Linked DNA regions of Homo sapiens: region 1 is linked to region 2. The links are contacts of gene promoters, found by promoter capture Hi-C in blood cells and fetal thymus (Javierre and others, 2016). All regions are on one chromosome and are shown on one strand. Each heading gives the region's core, a stretch centred on a gene start or on the middle of the fragment in contact. The rest is flanking DNA. Distances are from core to core; before and after follow the strand shown. Region 1 overlaps EIF2S1 (eukaryotic translation initiation factor 2 subunit alpha). Region 2 holds the start of RBM25 (RNA binding motif protein 25).

The links. The method cuts DNA at HindIII sites, captures the fragments that hold promoters and counts their contacts. A CHiCAGO score of 5 or more calls a contact.
Region 1: a contact is called between a fragment that was not itself captured here and the fragment with the promoter of RBM25 in region 2, in 1 of 17 cell types (total CD8 T cells). The highest score is 5.6, in total CD8 T cells.

What each region holds. Positions count from the first base shown.
Region 1 is chr14:67,363,719-67,366,758 of GRCh38, reverse strand. EIF2S1 (eukaryotic translation initiation factor 2 subunit alpha) reads right to left here. Exons shown (of 8, transcript NM_004094.5): 2 at 1,751-1,992. The coding sequence starts at 1,991. It also overlaps a transcript of GPHN not described here. Among named protein-coding and RNA genes, the nearest start is that of EIF2S1, 4.9 kb to the right of the region's middle. The HindIII fragment of the contact is 859 bases long and covers 1,318-2,176 here.
Region 2 is chr14:73,057,211-73,060,108 of GRCh38, reverse strand. It overlaps RBM25 (RNA binding motif protein 25), which reads right to left and starts at 1,575. Exons shown (of 19, transcript NM_021239.3): 1 at 1,404-1,575. It overlaps RBM25-AS1 (RBM25 antisense RNA 1), which reads left to right and starts at 656. Exons shown (of 2, transcript NR_184256.1): 1 at 656-833; 2 at 1,352-2,898. RefSeq lists enhancers at 1,471-2,010, 1,063-2,262, 1,334-2,298. The HindIII fragment of the contact is 1,744 bases long and covers 283-2,026 here.

The DNA.
Region 1 (3,040 bases), core at 498-2,997, 5.7 Mb after region 2:
TTTTCATACTTGTTCAGGGTTTATGGCATTTACGTTGAAAGGCTTGTCTAGGAGGACATAATTCTCTAGTATCAAAATGAATCCTCTCTACAGGCTCTTTTGCACTTTGCTTTTTCTCATCCTATCCTGGAGATCTTCCATATCAAAATATTCAGATCTCATTCTGCATAAAATTGCATTGCACGCATTTGTACTGATTTATTTAACCAGTCCCCATTTTGGTCATTTCCTGGTTTTAGTTAATGCCATACAAACAAATGCTATGGAAATATCTTTACATGTATCTACTGTACGTAAGCAAGTATGCCATTCCATATTTTTTCTGATTGCAACTAAAAACATATTTGATTCCTCCTTTTGTGTATATTTTATACAATAGAAAAAGAAGGCTGAGCACAGTGGCTCACACCTGTAATCCCAGTACTTTGTGAGGCCAAGGCAGGAGAATCGCTTGAGCCCAGTTCAAGACTAGCCTGGGCAACACAGCAAGACCCCATCTCTACAAAGAAAGTTAGCTGGGCAGGGTGGCACATGCCTGTAGTTCCAGCTACTTGGGAGGACTGCTTGAGGAACACTTGAACACAGGAGTTCAAGGCTGCAGCGACCTATGATCATACCACTACACTGCAGCCTGGGTGACAGAGCAAGACCCCAATTCTTAAAAAAAAAAAAAAAAAGTACAAGATTAGACACTACTTTAGGTACTACTAGGACAGTGATGTGAAGACTTACCTAAGTTTAACAAATAGTCTCAAAGTAGTTTAATAATTTTGGGCGGGGCTATAGCTAAGTCATAGCAAAACATTTAAAACAATCCATGTGCTAAGTAGCAGTCACTACCTAAGGCATAAGACATCCTCAAAATCTATGTATCATCTAAGGCTATAATAAAAAAAATTAAAATGTCAGTATGTATAAAATTAATCACTTGCAGAAGTGAGAAAGTATCAGTAAACCAGACGGCTGAGGAGATTCAGAAGGGTAAGTTGAATCAAGGTGACTGATATGAAGCCTTTCGGACATGATGGTAACTAATGACCTAAAACTAACACCTAACAAATTATAGTAAGATGGCTGAAACTAAAACCTACGTAATGGTATTGTACACCATGTTTAAAAAAAGAGTATTCACAAAGGTGATGATTTACATGGGGCCCAGAAAAGGCATCCAATAAGTAAAAAATGAATGCTCATCCAAAACTGTCTGAAAGATACCACGAGATCTGGTAGATGCAAACATTCTAATTACCAGCAAGATATACAATGTTGGATTTCAGGTGTGTATATACACGCATAGTATATTGCTTTTTCAAAGCTTATATAAAAGATCCCTAAAATCCATTTGCCCCATTTTCATGCTTACCCAGTGATCTCATTACTATTTTAGCTTTAAATCAAGAAAAAGGCATCCAACATATTCAGGCCTACCAATGTAAATGAACTAGTACTCTGACTTACCTGTCTCTAAGTTTGGTTACCATGAGTCAATTATCAAGATCCTGATAAACACTAGAAATAAAATTCAAGTTATCTGATCCATAAAATCCTAGGATGTACTAATTAAACTACTATTAAGAGATCTTGCTTAGATAGCTAATTGGCATCCTTTTCTAACAACTTTGTATGTAAAAGGTTTAAGTATAAAAGGAGCTTTTTTTTTTAAGCTGCAGCTTGCAATTTACAAAAAATGTATTTTTAAATAAACCATTTTAAATCTGAAATTTATATTACAGATATTTTTCTCACTTACCTTTTTCTTTGTCCACCCTAATGACAACCACACACTCATTCCTGCCAATTCGGATGAGTTTGTTGATAGAACGGATACGCCTTCTGGATAATTCACTAAGAAGAATCATGCCTTCAATGTTGTTGTATTCCAGCAAGCTGACATAAGCCCCCATTTCAGCAATGGATCTGACATTCACCATCACTACATCTTCCACCTCAGGAAATTTGTGTTGATAAAATCTACAACTTAGACCCGGCATTCTGCAATTTAAACAAAAGAATTAAGTAAGTATTCAGTTAAGGTGAAAATAAAAAAAAAATCAATTTCCACATCCTGCCACTGAAAGAAAAGATGAAGAAAAAAATAGTTATTAGTCTTAGTCTTCTCATCCTTTGAAACTTCTTAAGTGGTACCAGAAAACAGATAATGTTCAGGAACCAAGCTTTAATTTTTATTTTGCTCAACATTTTTGTAATGCTTGGGTGATTCTCTGCCTTTAGTTTCAGAGGAATCATAAAAAATAATGACCATCTATAAAGTACTCCAAGACCTAAGGATTAAAGGAATACCTCAAGAGTAAAATACTACTTTAAGGCATATCAAATGATGGGAAGCATCACTATTATAACTAATCAGAAAACTAAAGCTACTCTTTGCCGAAGTGAGCAAACATTGTATACGCTACCACTCACTATATAAAGGAAAAAATTTTCTACCTAAACCCTAACCAATATACCAAATGATACATTCTGTCATTTATTATAGCCAAAATTACAGTGTCACATGTCAAAACAACAAAAACTAAAAAAATTTTAATCACAAAATAAACTAAAATGCATCCTCCTCTCATAATTCTTTTTCCTTGAATTCACAATGTCTAGCTTCTCTTATCCCCAATACTCCCAAATATTCCTTTCTTTTATTGAATAGGTATACCTAATCTTGAGAATAGCTTTAATCTCCATTACTACAAAGTTCAAGTTTCTCTTAACCTCCAAGCATTAAAGATATTTACAATTATTCCCTTTGATCCACCCAACCTACTTTCAGCACTACTCCTTTTATGATCCACAAGCCTGAAATCATAGCCTGGGTAGAAGCATATTTAAAAAAGGAAGCTCTCAAACTAATCATGGCTGATGATTTTCATGTTTTTCTGTTAACCTTCACTGTTGTCACTGCTCAAAACGTAGGTAGTAACAGAACTTAAAGGCCTAAGAAAACCTTGTGAAAATTCATATAATAACTTATTAATTGGCACCTGCCTATATCTTCTCAGTGGCTTCCCACTGACTTATGTATCTTTCC
Region 2 (2,898 bases), core at 326-2,825:
AAGATCGCGCCACCGCACTCCAGCCTGGGCAACACAGCAAGACTCCGTCTTAAAAAAAACAACAACACAAAACAAAAAAAAAAATTACAGAGTCAGGGTTGGACTCTTACATTTCATTGAAAATCCTTAAATAACAAATTATGTCAATATAGATTTAAATGCTTATGTGTGTTACCTGGATACTGCACGAAGGATTTTACATACGTTTTTCTCAATCCCCAACCCCAATAACGTATAGATACTACTATAAATTCATTTTACAGAGGAACAAAAACCAAAGCTTAAAAGAAAAAAGAAAAAGAAAAACCAAGGCTTTAAGTTAAATGAATTAGAATACTATAAGATTCACTTGAATCATGAGTAACTTATGACCAACTTAATCCCTTTCAAGTCCTCTGAATGTTTTTGGAAATAGCCTTTAAAAAAATTAAAAGCTCCAAAGACTATACAAAAATTATTTATACATTACTGCCCACGGCCTAATACACAGAGTACTTCACACTAATACAGCAGTAGGGTGCAACAGAGGTCCAATCTCTTCCCTTCTCTTGGCTCCACTCTGCCCAGTATCAAAATGGCATTTCCATGGCAATACAAATCCATATTACATAACCTCCGAAAAATCTTCATAGTCCTACGTCTATTCCGGAAAACCGTATTTAAAAGCAGGATTGACGACCAAAGAAAAATGAGAAAGTAACATTTTAATGTGGAGCTTAGTAATCGCCTAGAATGAATGGCGATATACAGTTTACTGCACCCTCCAATGCGCAAAAGAGGCAGGATGGCAAAATTCATGACTATCTTAAGCAAGCCAGGAGACTGCTAAAAAGGTAGGTATTAGCTCAATTCCAAGGGGGTGGGGCCCAGTTCACTTGGTGGCGGGCTCTAGATGGCCAAAGAGGAAGGGAAAGATATCCGTTGGTGGCCAGCACCTCGCTAAAAAGGGTGGGTAGAGGCTAACTTCAAGGCAACGGCTGGGGCGAGAGTGTCCCAGGCCCGAAAACCTACTGTGGGGCTCCGGTAAGTAAGGGGGCTCAGGGAAGGGCTCCCCTGGGGCAGATCGATCGTTTTGTATCTAACGTGGAGCCCAGGGGGGGCAGAGACGATTCACTCCGCGGCGGAACGTGGAAGGGAAAGGGAAAGTGGGCGACAATGCAAGACGGAAAGCTCAAGCCGTAGGTCTGGCCTCCACCAGCTACGGCTGGGCCCACAGCTTTTCCAGGCCTTAGAGAAGAGAAGAAACCAAGCCTCGTGCCGACCCCTCCCCCACCCCCGCCTCCGCGCTCCCCCTTACCTCTACCCCACCCTGGCGCTTTCGCAGCCACCCCGGCTTTTCCTCCTCCACCAGCTGAGGCACCCGGTCTCCCGGTTTCCACACGCGTTCAGAGACACAAACTCACCCGCCGCTGAGGAAACGGTACTGCCTTCGCGACCTTCTGGGATCCAGGTTACGAGTGCGCTCCACTGGTTCGAGATTTCTGCCCGTCGCTCGCCAGGGAGACTGAGTGCCCAAGCGCCTACTCGCACAGGCCGCAAATACAGCCGCGCTGCGCGGCGAGCTGATGGAGGTCTTCCTCTTGCCCGGCGTGCACTGCGGCCGGGGGCGGGGAGCGCGGAACCATAGAGAAGAACGTATATAGATCGTCTCCGCTGTTGGCTCTGACTCACCAAGCCGAGACGAATAACCATAGAGAAGCAGCGTCTAGCGGTTACTAGAAAGGCCCGAACTGTAAATTATGACCCACCATGTTTGATTGGAGCCGACTGAATCTTACGACTACGGGACGCCATCTTGAGGTCAAGGTTCCGGCTGGGCACGGCGCGAGGAGTGTTAGAGGCTTTCTCACTTTTCGTAGTTTTTCGGGGGGTGGAACCTTGCTTTGTGATTCCTTGAGGTTCGAGGAACTGATAACTGGGCGCGATCTGCAACCTTAGTGTTAAACCCCAAGTGCTGTTATAACAACTACTCGAGATCAACAAATAATTGGCAAAGGCTGTGGAGGTTTTTTGAAAAGCAAAAGCTTATGCGTAGTTGTAGGGCCAAAGAGGTGGCTAGAAGATGTTTGGAAAAACGTGAAAAGTCCTGTAATACTAGTTAACACAGCTTTCGTTCTGTAATCTAAACGTGCTAAAAGAACTTAGCTTAAGTTAATGGAAATGAATAAAATTAATCATAAATGATTACGTTATTCCAATTGTGGACCTTATAGGCAATATCTAGTTACACGCCTTTCTCAACTGCTTGCCTCTAGGAAGGCATAAAACGGATTCAGTATAAAGTTATTGCCTCCCTGAGTTCCTGGTGCTGTGTTAAGTGCTGGAAGTATGAAGGCAAATGGAAGTGAGATTTGTTCCTGTCCTGCAAGAACTGTGAGCCAGGTGAAATAGATGACAAACCATGACCAGCCTAATATAAAATTGAAACATACTACACACTTCCTGCCTGCCTCCCCTACTTAATTTTACTCTAAAGCACTCATAACCATCTATCATAACATACATTTTTCTTGCTGATTTTATGGTCCGTCACTACCCCCACTAGAATGTGAATGTAAGCAATGCATGGATTGCCTGTTTTGTGCAAGAACAGGTCCTGGTACATAGCAAGCGCTCAATAAATATTTGTTGAGTGACAGAAATGATTACCGGCCGGGCGCGGTGGCTCACGCCTGTAACCCCAGCACTTTGGGAGGCCGAGGCGGGTGGATCACCTGAGGTTAGGAGTTCGAGGCCACCCTGGCCAACATGGCAAAACCCCGTCTCTACTGAAAATACAAAAATAAACTAGGCGTGGTGGCAGGCGCCTGTAATCCCAGCTACTCGGGAGGCTGAGGCAGGAGAATCGCTTGAACCCTGGAGGCGGAGGTTGCAGTGAGCCGAGATGGCACCACTGCA